6 separate regions of the Homo sapiens genome follow, and all the other regions are linked to region 1. Evidence: promoter capture Hi-C in 16 types of primary human blood cells and fetal thymus (Javierre and others, 2016). All regions are on one chromosome and are shown on one strand. Each heading gives the region's core, a stretch centred on a gene start or on the middle of the fragment in contact. The rest is flanking DNA. Distances are from core to core; before and after follow the strand shown. Region 1 holds the start of PUS3 (pseudouridine synthase 3). Region 2 holds the start of FEZ1 (fasciculation and elongation protein zeta 1). Region 3 has its middle 18 kb from the start of FEZ1. Region 4 overlaps FAM118B (family with sequence similarity 118 member B). Region 5 overlaps FAM118B (family with sequence similarity 118 member B). Region 6 has its middle 13 kb from the start of RPUSD4.

Region 1 (2,692 bases), core at 142-2,641:
GCTCGGTGGCGGTTACGTGGCTGTTCAGCCGCTCGCTCTCCGCCGCCCCTGCGTCGCCTCCCCACAGTAACGACGCCATGGCTGCGATTGCTGCTCCCGCCCCCAGCACGTGCTTCCACCACCGGCGCGAGGCGGTGCTGGCCCCATCCGCTGGCCAATGGGCTTCCTTAGGGGGCAGGCGTCCGCGTCCGCGCCCGCGACCACCGCGGTGCGGCGCGCAGGCGCTGGAAGGCTGGGTGGCGCGCGGAAGGGGCGGAGGGCAGAGAGCGGGGCGGGGGGCAGAGAGCGGGGCGGAGGGCAGAGAGCGGGGCGGAGGGCAGAGAGCGGGGCGAAAGGGCGCGGACCGGAGGGCAGAGGGGGCAGCTTCCGCAGAGTGGAGAGCGCCCCCCGCGCCGCCCCGCGGCCCGCCGCTCACACAGCCCTCCAGGCGGGAGCCCCCCGGACTCCCCGCCGCGCTTTACGCCCCGTGTCGGTTTCCCTGGAAATTTCCGCCTCCACATCACAAGATGTCAGAAAGGTTAGCGAATTGGTTAGCAAAGTGGAGACAAAATCTGATGAATTTGATATGACGAATGACCTCGAATGCCACAGTTGCGGAAAGGAAGCAGAACTGTTCAAGCTCTAACTGCTGTTCCTGCCCTAGATACCTGTGATGTTCCACATAGGCTTTTTAAAGCTTTTATTCTGAAATGTGGTCTCTTGTTAAAAACATTACCTTTCGGTATAACCTCTACGTCCTACATGCGTTTGCATAATCCGGTATAGATCCCTGGATCCCTGGTACTAATGATTTAATGACCGCTCAATTTGGACGAAAGAACCAAATTCCACCTCCCCCCCGCCCCCCAGTTTTCTAATTGTAATTTTGAGATTTTGATCAGCATTTCTGGAATTGGGGGCAAAAATACAAAAACCCACACGAAACTGCAGTCATGATCTCTCCGTGGTGCTGAAGCAACGCTCCCCGCTCTGTTCGGTCACTCTCAGGGCACCTAGTCGTTTGTTTTGAGATTATCATATTCATTTCAGCTTTTAATTTGAATTCTAATAGTAAATGTTTTTGTCTCTCAATGGTAACTTTCTTCTCATTTAACTAGGTATAAAATCGAGCCAAGATCTTCAATCTTTTAGTTTTCGTATAAGGATAGCAGAATTTGAAAAATTACCTTTTTTCTATTATTTTAGCGTAGCACTACAATTCCTCCTTTTATTGCTGTCCCGCCACAGGCCCAGATTCTGCCCTGTGGGCGGAGAAACGGTAGCTGGACTAGAAAACCTCAGGTAGATTCTAGCACCAAGCTCGGTTCTCAGAACTACATTTCCCACAAACTTGGACTACACCTCCCATGAGGGCTCGGGCGCCTGCGCAGAAGACGCACAGTGACAGCTTCCTTTCTCGGAAACGCGGCGCGGCCGGCTGCCGGAAAGTAAGTGTGGGATTTTTGGAGTGGGTTACTTTCTGGGTTCCACAGGGGAAGGGACAAATGGACACACTGCTGAACGGTTGTCTGTTGTCTTCTTTTTGCCCTCTTTCACATACTTTGGTCTTTTCAGGAAAGCATTGCCGTATGGAAATGAGACCTCGCTTAAGACCATGTATTTTTCTTTTGTGCCTGGTACTTTCTGGAGCTCTCGGTGGAAACTCGCCGCAGTAGGGTCGTCTTTAATTCCGTTGTGACGGGAGCTTCAGTGGTACTTGTACTGTGGAGTACAAAAGTGCTCTGCTGCCCCACTTAGAATTGGGTGCTCATAAAACAGTAGAAGTTGAGAACCCAGGAGTATGTGGGAGGCTGTGGCAGCAATTTTCAAATTATTTTGGGGATTGCCTTACATACAGACCACGATTGCTTTCTAGTGATCATAGTGCGTGTCTGCTAATCCTTTGGACAGTACTCCCTCTTCTTCCCTTTGGATTAATATAAAGTTTATCAAGAGGAATGCTATTTATGTGTTAACCCACTGGTTCCTGAGATTAGGACTTTTTTTTTTTTTTTTTTAAGACTGTCGCCCAGGCTGAGTGAAGTGGCGTGATCACTGCTCACTGCAGCCTCTACCTCCTGGGCTCAAGCGATCCTTCCACCTCAGCCTCCAACTAGCTGGGACTGCAGGCGTGCGCCATCTTGGCAGCCTAGTTTTTAATTTTTTAATTAACACACGGTCTCGCTGTGTTGCCCAGGTTGGTCTCGAACTCCTGACTTCGAGCGACCCCCCCTCCCCCCCGCCACCACCCCGTCTTGGCCTCTCAAAATGTTGGGATGACAGGCGTGAGCCACGGCGCCTGGCCCAATGTATGGAACATCTGGTGATGGCCGTTTTAGTTTGTAATTGGTGCTTAGGGGACACACGAATTCCCTCTCTGTGGTTACTTCGCAGCCCTGGCCAGGGTGTTACTTTAAACGTCTGCTTGGGAACTCCTGCACTTCACCCTGAATTAGGGTAAGGTGTGCTGGAAAAAGCACTGTAGTGTACCAAGTCCTGTTTTTGCCACAAATCTGCCTTATGACCAACTAGACTCACTCCCTGGCCTAGTTCTTTAGTTAGCACGGGAGTTGAACTTTGGAGACTTTGGTAATGTTGGACTTTGAGATCCAAATAATCACTGGAGTGTTTTGCATGTTAAAATCACCATGTAATTTTTGACCTCATAAAAAGTCGAGGTATAAATACAAATTACCTTTAATCCCACTACTCG
Region 2 (2,692 bases), core at 117-2,616, 410 kb after region 1:
CTGGGCATGATCCCAAGAAAGGAGATCTAGGGATCTTTTAACCAGCTACTCTTTGTGATTTATTTATTTATTTATTTACTTTTGAGACAAGGTCTTGCTGTCGCCCAGGCTGGAGTGCAGCTTCAACCTCTTGGGCTCAAGCGATCCTCCCACCTCATCCTCCAGTGTAGCTGGGGCTACCAGGATGGGCTACCAGGATGGGCCCACCATGCCTGGCTAATTTTTTTTTTTTTATAGAGATGGGGTCTCACTATGTTGCCTAGGCTGGTCTTGAACTCCTGGCCTCAAGTGATCCTCCTGCCTCAGCTTTCCAACATGTTGGGATTATAGGTGTGAGCCACCGTGCCTGGCCTTATGATTTCTTACAGGAAGACATCCTCTGTCTATTGCTCCCACAAAGGCAAATAGGCCAACGCTTCTTCTCATCTCATTGGGACATTATTCCTGTTTCCATCCTTCTCATGGTTGAAATGTCTGTGGAATGAATGCATAAACGAGCAAAAGAGACGCTCCCTGCCCCTTCCAGTTGAAGTCCTCAGTTCAGCCCAGAGGTACTTTGCCATCAGACAAAAGTACTTGGGGTTCTCCAAGCCGACATGCTTTTTCCAGTGCCTTCCTTCGATAATTACAGTTCTTGTGCTCTTAGTTGTGTGTATTCGTGAATTATTAGATTTTTTATTGACAACTTCTATAAGCACAGGCCTATGCACAGTAGACAAGATAAATTAATAATTTTTCACAAGACTCCAGGGACCCTTCTCATTTCAGCCTCTTGAATTTTCCTGTATTATCTCAAGTCCTCCTGGGCCTGAAACCTTCTCACTCAGATTTTTCAGCTGGATCCAGCTCCCACCCAGCATCTTTGGGCGAGAAAAGCTCTCCTGCCGGCCTCCTCATTTTTGGCTTGAGGTCCGAACCCAGTTGGAGCTGGGAGACGTCGCTGGGCCTGCCCGCCTCAGCCTCCAGTAGAGGAGAATGGGAAACTCGGAAAGTCCAAAAGGGTCTTTGAGTGTGTCTGCCGGCATCCGCCAGCAGCCATCGCCTGCATTTTATCCAGAAACTAGTGTCAGGCTTTGCGAGGTATCCATATTGGTAGTTATTGCACGCTTTCATCTTGGAGTTTCTGAATATTCATGAGGGAAGCAGAAAGGCCAATGTTAAAGAGGAGAGAAACAGAAATGCATAAATATTAATAAAGGCAAGCCCACGTGCTCGGAGGAAGGCTATGAATGTTAACGAGGGGATGACGTCCAGCTCCCGCGCGTGCCAGTTGGGTGGGTGCCCGAGCGCGGGCGCGCCCCCGGAGCCCGGGCACGAGCGCGGGGAAGGGGTGGGGTGGAGGCGGGAGCGGAGCCGGGCGCCGCCGGAGCTGCGCGGGGAGCGCTCGCTGGCTGGCTGGCTGGCTGGCTCTCCGCTGCGCTGCGCTGCGCTCCGGCCGCTCCCGCGGCCCGTGGATGGGGGTGTCCGGCTGAGCCCCGGGATCCGCCTCCCTCCGCCAGGACCCGCACAGGTGCCGTCGCGGGGGTTGACTTTAGTTAGGACCCGACTCACTGCTGGGGGTGGGGTCTGGTGGGGGTGGTAAGGAGGCCCCGGGATTCTCTGACAGGACGGTCTGGGGTCGCCGCAGCTCCCCTCACCTGGTCCCATTCTGGGATTAGAAAGGAACAACGGGAGGCCGTCGCCTTCCTGCCCAGCCCTTCAGGGAGCGCAGCTGGGACGCCGCGCCAGGCCCTGGAGATGTGGGATGATGGGCACTTCCAGTATCATCTCAGCATCGGCCCTCCAGCCAGGCCTGGTGTGTGTGTGTGTGTGTGTGTGTGTGTGTGTGTGTCCGCGTGTGTGTGCCCGCGTGTGTGCGCGCGTGTGAAGGCAGGGCGGCGAGGTATGGGGGCTGGGGGAAGAAGGGAACGCCGCCCGATCGCGCTGGGGCAGTGGGTCGGTACCTCGTCCCGGGACCGTTATCTGGTCCAGTCACCGTAAACGCCCCAAGATCATCTTTGTCCCTAAAAACTTACCCCCGACCCCGCTCGTGCCCCTCCCCAGAGTGCGGAGCCTTCCCCAGACCGCGCATTCCTGCAGTGTCAGAACCGCTGGCAGCGGCCGCAGACGCCGGGAGAGCGATTGTTTTACTACAGACGGGCGGGAGAAGGGACCGGGGCGGCTGCGCGGTGGCGGGGCGCGCTGCCGTCGGGTGGGCCCCGGGCTCTGGAATGCGGGGAGCAGTGTTTGACGGCGTCGAGGAGGTATCACAGCCCGCTCTTCTTCCCTTTTGCCTATCCCTTCTCTCCTCGCCGCTAGGCATCCCCGACTCTCATCCCTCTCCCGTGTCCGGGCTTGTTTGGCCGGAAGGGCAGTGGAGTGTGTATGCGGCCTGCACGGGATGAGTCCGGCTTCCTCAGAGTGCCAGCCATTGTGCTGCCTGGAGGAGGCTTTCTTTACCCCACCGGACTGGGGGGAGGAGGGGGATCTGAGATGGAGGTGAATGGAGCAGCGGGAGGAGGGGGAGGGGAGCAAGCAGAACCGCGAAGGGGTTGCTGATCCATATGCAACGAAATACTTTTTCTGTCAAAATGTGCACAAACATGCACACTGGGTGGGTTCTGCGGAGGAGCAGTGGGAAATCTGAAGGTGGATCAGTGCAGGGTAGGTTTTAGGGACGGATATGGGGGACGAGGCACGGAATCAGTTGATC
Region 3 (2,692 bases), core at 110-2,609, 390 kb after region 1:
TCCAGGATTTAAGCAATCTTCCTGCTTTGGCATTCCAAAGTGCTGGGATTATAAGCATGAGCCACAGCATCCAGCCACACTTTTTTTTTTTTTTTTTTTGAGATGGAGTTTTGCTCTTGTTGCCCAGGCTGGAGTGCAATGGCGCAATCTTGGCTCACTGCAACCTCCGCCTCCCAGGTTCAAGTGATTCTCCTGTCTCATCCTCCCAAATAGCTGGGATTACAGGCATGTGCCACCCCATTTGGCTAATTTTGTATTTTTAGTAGAGACAGAGTTTCTCCGTGTTGGTCAGGCTGGTCTTGAACTCCCGACCTCAGGTGATCCGCCTGCCTCGGCCTCCCAAAGTGCTGAGATTACAGGCGTGAGCCACCACGCCCAACCAGCCACCCTTTTAAACTACACAATTCAGTGGCTTTTAGTATAGTCACAGAGTTGTGCAACAATCACATAACTACTTCCTTTTACTATCTACCACAATTTAATTTTAGTGCATTTTCATCATCCCACCCCCCGCCACACACACACCCTGCCAAACTAAAGAAACCACACATCCGTTAGCAGTCACTCTCCACAGCCCCTGGCAACCACCAATCTACTTTATGTTTCTATTGTGAAAAGAAATTACATTTTGGGACCCCAGAGTCATTTAGCCAAAGGGAAAAGTCAAAAATCAGATATGCATTTGTGTCTGGCAGGCCTGTACCTGTAAAGATAACCTATCAATTTGCATGCCACAGTGATGTTTTAGCAGCTCACCAGGAATTTCCTTGTGGGCAAAATATGGGGAAATTCCCAGTGAGCTGTTAAAACGTCACTATGGCAATGCAAATTGTTAGGTCATCTTTACAGGTGCAGGCCTGCCAGACACAAATGAATATCTGATTTTTCCCCTACTCCATTTTGTCTGTGTTATCTTATGTAAAATGCAGATTCCCCACATTTTTCCTTTGCCCCTTTTGCTTATGTGAAAACTGTGTGCTTCTCAATATCCCACCCTTTCCCCCTTAAATTTGGAGCCTCAAAATCATCTTCAGAGAAAGGCATAGACCTGTCTCCAGGATGCGTCCTTAACTTTGGCAAATAAATCTAAAATGATTGAGACTTGTCTCATCATTTTCTTCAATTGACACTATGTAGACATTTCATGTACATGAAATTACGTACCATGTGCCTTTCTGTGTCTGCTGTCTTTCACTCAACATAATGCTTTCAAGCTTATCTGTGTTGTAGCATTGTATCAGTATTTTGTTCTTTTTATGGCTGAATGACATTTCATTGCATGGATATACCACAATTTGTTTATCCATTTATCCCTTGATGGACATTTGGGTTTGTAGGAGTGAAAGGAACTCTCCTTCCACCCTTTAAAGGCTCGATAATCTCTGGAATAAACTTGACAGTAGACAGATTAACAGGAGAAAAGGCATACAAATTTATTACATGCATATGTATAGGAGTTCCACAAAATATGAGACACAAAGGAGGGCCAGATGGTTGAAGCTTAAATAGCATTGTGAGCTACAGAAAAAATTAGCTTGGCACAGTGGCTCACACCTGTAATCCTAGCACTTTGGGAAGCTGAGGTGGGAGGATGGCTTGAGCCCAGTAGTTCCAGATCAGCCTGGCCAATGTGGCAAAACCCTATCTCTACCAAAAATGCAAAACTTAGCTGGGTGTGGTGGCATGCCCCTGTAGTTCCAGCTACTCAGGTGGCTGAGGTAGGAGGATCACTTGAACCAGGGAGATCAAGGCTGCAGTGAGTACAGTGAGCTGTAATTGCACCCACTGCACCCCAACCTAGACAACAGAGTGAGACCCTGTCTCAAAAAAAAAAAAAAAAAAAAAAAGAATTAGAAGCTTAAAGACTCCTGGAGGGTGGTGGCAACAAGCTGTGGGAGAGTGAGGGGAGGAAGAGCACTGCAAGCAAAGGTTGTCTTATTATGCAGAAGAAGTCTCTCAGGTAGCTCTCAGAAGCATAAGTGAAAAGTCTGTCTGGGCATGATGTCCTAGATGTGGAGACATTTAGTCTCCTCTCTTAGAGATCATATAGATTCCAGGGAGTGAGTTCATGACACTTCATTTCTTCTGGAGGGATTTCTCTTAGTCAGATAAAGGAAATGTCAGAGAAAGTGCTTCCCTATGCTTTGGGAGAAAAAGAGAATCAAGACATAGTAAGCAGGGAAAGGTCAGAGAGACCTTGGTTCTGAGGCCCTTTCCTTTAAAAAATTTTGTTTTGCTTTTTTTTGTTGTTGTTGTTTTTTGTTGTTGTTTGTTTTTTTGAGACAGGATATTGTTCTGTCACCCAGGCTGGAGTGCAGTGGCACCATTACAGCTCCCTGCAGCTTCACCCTCCCAGGCTCAAGTGATTCTCCCACCTCAGCCCCCCAGGTAGCTGGGACCACAGGCATGTGCCACCATGTCCAGCCCATTTTTAAATTTTTTTGTAGAGACAGGATCTCACTATGTAGCCCAGGCTGGTCTTAGGCTCCTGGGCTCAAACAATTCTTCCCACCTTGGCCTCCCAAAATGCTAGGATTACAGGTGTGAGCCATTGTACTCTGCCAGAGGCTGCTTCTTTAGTTCAAAGTACTCAGCATTTCAAAATGCCATATTTTCTGACCCCCAAAAGGTTGTTTCAACTTTTTTGGTTATGATGAATAAAGCTGCTATGTACATTTGTGAACACGTTTTT
Region 4 (2,692 bases), core at 71-2,570, 360 kb before region 1:
ATTCCATTCCTCAGTCACACTGGCCACATTTCAACGGTGCACCAGCCACATGTGGCTCCTAACTATGATACTAGACAGTGAAGATTATACAGTATTTTTATGACTGCAGGAAATTCTACTGGATAACACTTGGCATAGATAATAGTTCAGAAAAAGTAAAAAGCTGAACACATGGAAGAAAATAGTCATTAGAAATATGGTCAATTACAGTATAAACAGGCATGGTACTCAAATATACAAATTGATATTACCCTCGTAGAAAACAATTTAGCAGTATTTATAAATTACTGAAATGTTCCTGATCTTTGACCTGATTACAGTGAGAACTCATCAAGGAAATTACTGGAAAAACTGAAGAGATACAGATGTTATTTTCACAACATGACTTACAAAAAACTGGCAAAAAAAATATCAGACGTTGCCTAACAGGAATAATTAGGTAAACTGTAACACCCCTACTGGAATATAAAAGTCAATTAAAATAGTGGTTATGAAGATAGGGATGTGGGAAAATGTACAATCCACTACTGAATTTTCAAAGGACCAAAAAAAAAAAAAAATCACTATATTTTGTTTACAACTATGAAAAAAAGCACAGGGAAAACTTCATCAGAAATGTGCCAAGGCCAGGTGCTGTGGCTCACACCTATAATCCCAGAACTTTGGGAAGCTGAGGTGGGAGGATTGCTTGCACTTAGGAGACTGAGAACAGCCTGGGCAACATGGCGAAACCCCATCTCTACAAAAAATACAAAAATTAGCTGGGCATTGTGGTATGTGCCTTTAGTCTCAGCTACTCGGGAGGCTGAGGTGGGAGGATCGCCTGAGCCCGGGGAGGTCAAGGCTGTGGTGAGCCATGACTGTGCCATTGTACTGCAGCCTGGGTGAAAAAGCAAGACCCTGTATCAAAAATAGTAATAATAATAAAATAAAAATAAAGCTGGCACAGTGGCTCACGCCTGTAATCCCAGCACTTTGGGAGGCTGAGGTGGGTGGATCACGAGGTCAGGAGATCGAGACCATCCTGGCTAACACAGTGAAACGCTGTATCTACTAAAAATACAAAAAATTAGCCGGGTGTGGTGGCGGGCGCCTTTAGTCCCAGCTACTCGGGAGACTGAGGCAGGAGAATGGCGTGAACCCAGGAGGCAGAGCTTGCAGTGAGCTGAGATTGCGCCACTGCACTCTAGCCTGGGTGACAGAGAGAAACTCCATCTCAAATCAATAAATAGGCCCGGGCATGGTGGCTCACGCCTGTAATCCCAGCACTTTGGGAGGCCAGGGCGGGTGGATCATGAGGTCAGGAGACCGAGACCATCCTGGCCAACATGGTGAAACCCCATCTCTACTAAAAATACAAAAAATTAGCCGGGCATGGTGGTGGGCGCCTATAGTTCCAGCCACTCAGGAGGCTGAGGCAGGAGAATCACTTGAACCCAGGAGGCGGGGGTTGCAGTGAGCCGAGATTGTGCCACTGCACTCCAGCCTGGCGTCAGAGCGAGACTCCATCTCAAAAAAAAAAAAAAAAAAAGTACCACAACGACTGCTTGTATGGTAATGGATTATAAGAATTATTTTTCTTTTTCCCACTGCTTGATTTTTCCAAAATATGTGTAACTACATACTATAGAATCCTTTGAAGACAATTAATTTCCACTATGCAAAAGTGAGTATACAGCACAATGCCAGGCACATAGCAAAGGTTCAGTGTTAAAAAACAAAATAACAGCAAAAGACCTGTAACCTCTCATTAGTCTATATCTACAGAGACTCAAAACATTATGCAAGGGTGAAAGATAAGGTTGACTCGTTTCAAAATGAAATGATGTTTTAACCTGAAACTGCTCTACTACATTTCACATGACAAACTCAGCTGACCATTCCCATAAAGCACTCTGGCCATACTGAAAATCCTTGATTTTGTTTAAAGATACAGAACACCTTAATGATGGGTAACTTCGGGGAAAGCTACTCTGGTAGGAAGCCTACACAGCTAATAAAAGAATTTGTGCCATTCCACAATAGCAGTTAAGGTTCCTTAGAGCAATCTTAGTGCACTAAGGAACCTTACTGCTTCTTTGTTATGTAATGCAACAGTCTAAAGACATATTTATTTTTTGCTAAGATTTAGTGCAACAGAAACAGTTATGCAGACGGATTTTGCTGTTTTAAACTTTAGCATCTTTCCTCAGCATATAGATCAAAAGAAATATGTAGAACTTGGATATGTATGTCTTGTTAATGAAAACAACATGTGCAACAGAAAAGCCTTCTCAAAGTCTCAAGTGTGGGCAAACAACAGCAGGAGAGTCTAGAACACTGCAGGACACCAGAAAAACTCATTTCCAACAAAGAATAGTAAATAGTTTTCACAAATGAGACTTGTTCATGTGGTGATGGCTTTTAAAAGTCTGGTTCCATCAAAGCATAGCCATGGAAGAAGCTGTGTAATTTTTCATTACAGGAGAATTCTACTTGAAGCCATCTGATTCAGTTAAGAAATCTGGGGATGATTTGATTTAGGAAAACTGCTTTATGTTTATTAAATTACCTGTATGTTATTTATTTTAGAAACAGCGTCTTGCTTTATTGCTCAGACTGTAGGGCAGTGATGCAATCATAGCTCACTGCAGACTCCAACTCCTGGGCTCAAGTGATCCTCCTGCCTCAACCTCCCAAGCAGCTGGACTAC
Region 5 (2,692 bases), core at 51-2,550, 330 kb before region 1:
ACTCAGAAATCAATAAAACCAAAAAACTAAAAAGCAGCAATATATATAGTATTTTCAAACATGGATGTCAACATTAGAAGAAACAGGTAAAGTTGAAAGTGATTATCTCTGAGGAAGGGCGGACTTTGAAATACTGATTTTAAAAACTATGTACCTGTACTGCCTTGATAAAAAATAAAAATTAAACCCAAAATAAAAACAATTTAATTTTGAGTATGAAGGTCAATACTAATTAGTGAAAACAACTGATATAGAAGGTATAAGTTGGCTATTTTTCTTTCTCTCCCACTAATGGTAATTTACTCTGCTGATTCCCTTCTCTTGTTTACCTGGGCTTTTTGGTGGGAGGTTCGCCATCGTTGAAGAATCCAAAAATCTCGTCTATATCAGAGGCCTGGCTCCCTGTAGAAGCCATCCAGTTTCTAAAATAGATTAAACACCATGAACCACAATTAGATCTGTAAAGTATACTATTCAAAATAGCACATATATTAAACAGTTTAAAAAAGCTGTATACCCTTAAAGGTGTTTTGGAGGTGCCCCCTACTTAACAGAAATTTGTTAATTAATGAACATTCTAAACAAGGAGCTAAATTAAATTAGTCTAAAAGAAGTAATCTGGAAATTATAGGACTTTGGTGCTCCATACTACCATCTTGCTTCTGTTTCTGAAGGCCTGCCCCCAAGTTCCCACCAAAAACAGTGTCAACTCATGTCAATTACTGGCCATCACTTTGTAGAACTTAAGAAAAACCAGTTATTCTCCCACAAGATGGGTTTGCGGAAGACTCAGGGGATAAAAACCACCCATAGATAAGTGTATTAATAGCCCCCAATTACCCATTTACTCTCAGCTGAAGAAATTACTGAGTCAAGAACAGAACAATCAATACTAATTTGCTGAATGACATTCTCTGTTGTTGGACGATGGTGACCTTGTAGCCAGTGGGGCATGTCTCTCTAACTAAACATGAAGTGGACTTCAAATCAAGCCACTGTGATGACTGGTAAATGTATCATCAAGCAAAGATGTATGAAAAATGGCCAATTATGTTCGGGTGCTGGAATAACTGGCAAAAGTAAATAATTACCATGGATTAGAATGAATACTATAAAGTTCTAAGTGCTCAAACTTTGGCAAACTTGTTAAATCTAAAGACTGTGAATTTAAAAATAGTAATAGTATTTTAAACACACACACAATATAGAAGACAATACATACTACCACCGTTTGGGGTGTTTTAGTACATTCCACTGGCAACATATAGAACTGAATTACTAATAATTACTGCAAGTTTACTGTTTTATTAGAAAGCCCTTTTCTTTTCTTTTTTTGAGACTGGGTCTTGCTCTGTTGTCCAGGCTAGAGTACAGTGGCGCCATCTTGGCTCACTGCAGTCTCGGCCTCCTGGGCTCAAGCGATCAACCCACCTCAGCCTCTCCATCACCTGGGACTACAGGCACATGCTACCACATCTGGTGGAATTTTGTACTGTTTGTAGAGAGGGGGTTTTGCCATGTTGCCCAGCTGGTCTCTAACTCCTGAGCTCAAGTAATCTTCCAGCCTTGGCCTCCCAAAATGTTGGGATTACAGGCATGAGCCACTGCACCCAGCCCAAAAAAGCCTTTTTCTTTATTAAAACACTAAGTTTCTGAATTAATTTTTTGTGGTAAACAGAAGGCTCACATCCTCACCCCATAGTCCATCACACGCAGTGTAATTCTTCTTTATATCATAATCATAAGGTAAATAGAAATAATACAGTCACAGTAGTGAGTTAGGAAGTAGATCATGTTTCCAGTCAAATCTTTGATTCTGTTGGTGAGAAAGCTGGGGCTCAGGAGAAGACAGATGAGTCACTTATCTCAGTAAATCCTGCCTTAACACAACCATGTAGGTTTTTCTGGGTTTTTTGTTTTGTTTTGTTTTTGAGACAGAGTTTTGCTCTTGTTGCCCAGCCTGGAGTGCACTGGCGCAATCTCGGCTCACTGCAACCTCCGCCTCCTGGCAGTTGCTCCCTTCAAGCAATCCTCCTGCCTCAGCCTCCTGAGTAGCTGGGATTACAGGCATGCGCCACTATGCCCAGCTAATTTTGTATTTTTAGTAGAGACAGAATTTCTTCATGTTGATCAGGCTGGTCTCGAACTCCTGACCTCAGGTGATCCGCCCGCCTCAGCCTCCCAAAGTGTTGGGATTACAGGTGTGAGCCACCGCACCCAGCTGGGATGTTTGTTAAAAGTATATATATTCTTGAAAATAAAGTTAATTCATTAAATTAAAAAAGTTTGTTTCTAGGCTCTACTCCAAAATTACAGAATCAGATTCTCCAGAATCTTCCTTCAAATAGGAAACACCTAAATAAGATGCAAACTTAATTTTTCTACAATGCAACAATTTTGTTAAATATAGGATGCACATGAAGTATACCATTAAGCCATCTTCCCTTAAGTGTAATAACTTATTACAGTCTAACGACTTCCCAGTTTGCTTATAACAATAGCCAGGTTTTAAGTGTCCTTAAAATATTTTTATGAAGTTTTAACTTATGTGACTCACTTCCGATTCTAAAAGTCAACGCTCTAGAATGGTGAACTAGGGGTAGAATGTGTTTACTTCTTCCACACACAGGACAATCCATTAGTTTGGGGATATATATTTTTTTAAGTTTTTTTAAGGAAAAAATATATTTTT
Region 6 (2,692 bases), core at 111-2,610, 300 kb before region 1:
ATGATGAAGTTCTTCCTTTTCTGTGTTTTCTTAGGCCTAAAGAAAGGATTAACATTTCTCTGATTCTTAGTGGGATCTGGACTGCCTGAGCAGCAGGTCTTGCTAGGTACAGTGGCTATCTTTTTTTTTTTTTTTTTTTTTTTTTTGAGACAGAATTTCACTCTTGTTGCCCAGGCTGGAGTGCAATGGCGTGATCTCCACTCCCCACAACCTCTGCCTCCCGAGTTTAAGCGATTCTCCTGCCTCAGCCTCCCGAGTAGCTGGGATTACAGGCATGTGCCACCATGCCCGGCTAATTTTGTATTTTTAGTAGAGATGGGGTTTCTCCATGTTGGTCAGGCTGGTCTCAAACTCACAACCTCAGGTGATCCACCTGCCTCAGCCTCCTAAAGTGCTGGGATTACAGGCATGAGCCGCCGTGCCTGGCCCAGTGGCTATCTTTAATTACTGACAATAATATAAGAGGAATTTTACCCCAGGTTAGTGTGGCCTGAGAAATGGGTTACACAGCAAAGGAGGTTGGAATGTGCCTAAAATGAACTGCATCTATTTTGAAATACTGATTAGAGCCAGCTAAAAGATATGATTTAGTGTTAAGTCATATACAGTAATTAGTATAAGAAAATGGGCTTCTTAAATTTCTATTTTTATCAAAGTTCTATGTGCACATGATTTAAAAAATCAAGAACTATTCTGCTCAAATGACTCTGGTTAAAAAAAGAATAAGAAAAAATCAAAATGAAAAATCAAGAACTAAAGGCTTGCCATGAAAAGCAGCAGCTCCTTGCCCACGTAGGGATTTTGTTTGCTGTGAGCTCTGGGAGGTGCTTGTGCTCAGCAGAGGGGGGAGGCCGGCTCTCCCAGTGCCCCTTCTGGTGGCAGCACTGGCTCTTCTGCTCCAGGAGGCAGCTTTTGGGTAGCTGGTTTTTTTCTGTGCTAGGCATGCCCAACCTAATAAGCCCACAGAGCACTTTCTCAATCCTCGTATCACACGTCTTTGCATTTGATAACCGAATTGCCCACTCTGAGCTCCTCACTCGCTTTGATTCCATGAACTCCTCCTGCATCTCCTTGTCTGACCTCCTTCCAGGCTCCTTGAAGGGCCCCAGCATGGTGCCCCCCAGAGCTCCATCTTGGCATCCTGCCCCTCTCCCAGAGGGAGAGCTGGGCCAACTTGGGAAGCCTCTACCTGTGTGCTGACGACTCGCTAGTCTGTCTCTGACCTTGATCTCCCCCTTGAGCTCCTTATCTTCACATCCATCTGCCTGTGATCGTCTCCCCTTGGGAGCTCCCTCTCCGGGCCTGTTGCTCCTGTCCTCTTACCTGCCTTAGTTTAGATGGCATCACCAGAGACCTGGGAATCACCCTTAACTCCTCCCTCGCACCAGTCCCCAAATCCAATTAGCCACTAATTCTTTGCCAGTTCCATCTAAAACCCTTCTCTTAAAATGCACTTCCCTCTTTAATTCTAATATCTCCTGAGCACCAATTTCACCGTCCCCACCCTTCAGCTATGATGGGATAGGTCTGGGAGGTGGAAGGGCATAGTGGGTTAGAAATAGGATCATAGGCAACCTGCTAGTTCCCACCAGAAACCAAACTCACAACGGGGTGTTGAGACCATCCCCAGGTTCCTGGGGATAGAGCAGTGTGGGAGGGGGTACCTGTTTTAAACAAGACAGGCAAATAGAGCAGCCTCCCACCATGTTTTCTAGGTCTGCTCTCCTTGGCTCTCTGGACTGCTTTTAGCCAGAGTGCCTGGTAGGATATACAAAAACATGGCCTCCTGCTTGTGCTTGTGCAAAGCATGCCATGTGGGTGCAGACAGCTTCTCCCAGTGCGGAGCAAAATCTGCTGGCTCAGGGCAATGTAATTCAAACACCAGCTACCCAGCGTTAGGCCAGATGTCACAAGTTAATGGCACATTCCACAGGACTTGCCTCACTTCAGACACCAGCTGCAAGCTCTGGGGTTTTCCAGCCACCTGTACTTCTGACCAACTAGCTATGAATTCAAGAGTGTTCACAAACCCCTCAGGTTTGATCATTCACTAGAATGACTCCCAGAACTCAGCAAAGCACTAGCTATGCTTACTATTATGGTTTTGCTGTAGCAATAAAATGATATGAATCAGGACCAGCTAAAAGAAGAGATGCATGGGCAAGGTCTGGGAGAGTCTCCAGCATGAAGCTACCGTGTCCTCTGCCCACCGTGTCACCCTCCCAACACATGGATGTGCATCACCAGCCAGGAATGTCACCCAAGCCCTGGTGTCCAGAGTTTTTATTGGGGTTTCATTATGTTGTCGTGGTTGAACAATTGGCTACATTGTTGAACTCGGTTCTGCTGGGTTCAAAGTGCCAACCCTCTAATCACATGGTCGGTCTTTTTGCATGGCCAGCCTGAAACTACCCATCCTGAAACTAAAGCCCCACCGTGAGTCCTCACATTTAATAGCGTAAACTATTAGGGCTCATCATGAATAACAAAAAATGTTAACATCACTTGGGAAATTCCAAGGATTTAGGTTCTCTCTCCCAGGAACCAAGGACGAAAGCAAGGCAAATTATTATAGAACTCTGAGTTTTCCTCTCCATCCCCCACTCCCTTAGGCGTCTCTTGATGTCCTCTCTTAGGGATCCCTTCATCTTGCTGTCCCCCAGCGAGTGACCAGCCTAGGTGGCTGTCTGCA

Evidence for each region. Contacts are between HindIII fragments. The CHiCAGO score rates a contact against its expected background, and 5 or more counts as called.
Region 2: the fragment with the promoter of FEZ1 here is called in contact with the fragment with the promoter of PUS3 in region 1 in 1 of 17 cell types (total CD8 T cells); the score reaches 6.0 in total CD8 T cells.
Region 3: a contact is called between a fragment that was not itself captured here and the fragment with the promoter of PUS3 in region 1, in 1 of 17 cell types (total CD8 T cells). The highest score is 5.1, in total CD8 T cells.
Region 4: a fragment that was not itself captured here is called in contact with the fragment with the promoter of PUS3 in region 1 in 7 of 17 cell types (fetal thymus, naive CD4 T cells, non-activated CD4 T cells and 4 more); the score reaches 10.0 in fetal thymus.
Region 5: a contact is called between a fragment that was not itself captured here and the fragment with the promoter of PUS3 in region 1, in 4 of 17 cell types (activated CD4 T cells, non-activated CD4 T cells, naive CD4 T cells and 1 more). The highest score is 5.6, in activated CD4 T cells.
Region 6: a fragment that was not itself captured here is called in contact with the fragment with the promoter of PUS3 in region 1 in 15 of 17 cell types (naive CD4 T cells, endothelial precursors, fetal thymus and 12 more); the score reaches 18.5 in naive CD4 T cells.

Annotation. Positions count from the first base shown.
Region 1 is chr11:125,901,905-125,904,596 of GRCh38, reverse strand. PUS3 (pseudouridine synthase 3) reads left to right here and starts at 1,391. Exons shown (of 4, transcript NM_031307.4): 1 at 1,391-1,427. It overlaps DDX25 (DEAD-box helicase 25), which reads right to left and starts at 89. Exons shown (of 12, transcript NM_013264.5): 1 at 17-89. The coding sequence starts at 79. The HindIII fragment of the contact is 3,679 bases long and covers 679-2,692 here.
Region 2 is chr11:125,494,939-125,497,630 of GRCh38, reverse strand. FEZ1 (fasciculation and elongation protein zeta 1) reads left to right here and starts at 1,366. Exons shown (of 10, transcript NM_005103.5): 1 at 1,366-1,510. It overlaps LOC403312 (putative uncharacterized protein MGC39545), which reads right to left and starts at 2,417. Exons shown (of 2, transcript NR_164146.1): 1 at 2,016-2,417; 2 at 1-1,123. RefSeq lists a silencer at 1,179-1,428 and enhancers at 1,303-1,804, 1,805-2,308. The HindIII fragment of the contact is 4,219 bases long and covers 1-2,692 here.
Region 3 is chr11:125,512,533-125,515,224 of GRCh38, reverse strand. No RefSeq gene overlaps it. Among named protein-coding and RNA genes, the nearest start is that of FEZ1, 18 kb to the right of the region's middle. The HindIII fragment of the contact is 286 bases long and covers 1,217-1,502 here.
Region 4 is chr11:126,258,265-126,260,956 of GRCh38, reverse strand. All of the region lies in intron 7 of FAM118B (family with sequence similarity 118 member B), which reads right to left. It also overlaps a transcript of SRPRA not described here. Among named protein-coding and RNA genes, the nearest start is that of SRPRA, 9.3 kb to the left of the region's middle. The HindIII fragment of the contact is 5,808 bases long and covers 1-2,692 here.
Region 5 is chr11:126,232,725-126,235,416 of GRCh38, reverse strand. It overlaps FAM118B (family with sequence similarity 118 member B), which reads right to left. Exons shown (of 9, transcript NM_024556.4): 3 at 330-422. The coding sequence starts at 415. Among named protein-coding and RNA genes, the nearest start is that of FAM118B, 22 kb to the right of the region's middle. The HindIII fragment of the contact is 4,780 bases long and covers 1-2,692 here.
Region 6 is chr11:126,196,976-126,199,667 of GRCh38, reverse strand. No RefSeq gene overlaps it. Among named protein-coding and RNA genes, the nearest start is that of RPUSD4, 13 kb to the left of the region's middle. The HindIII fragment of the contact is 5,671 bases long and covers 1-2,692 here.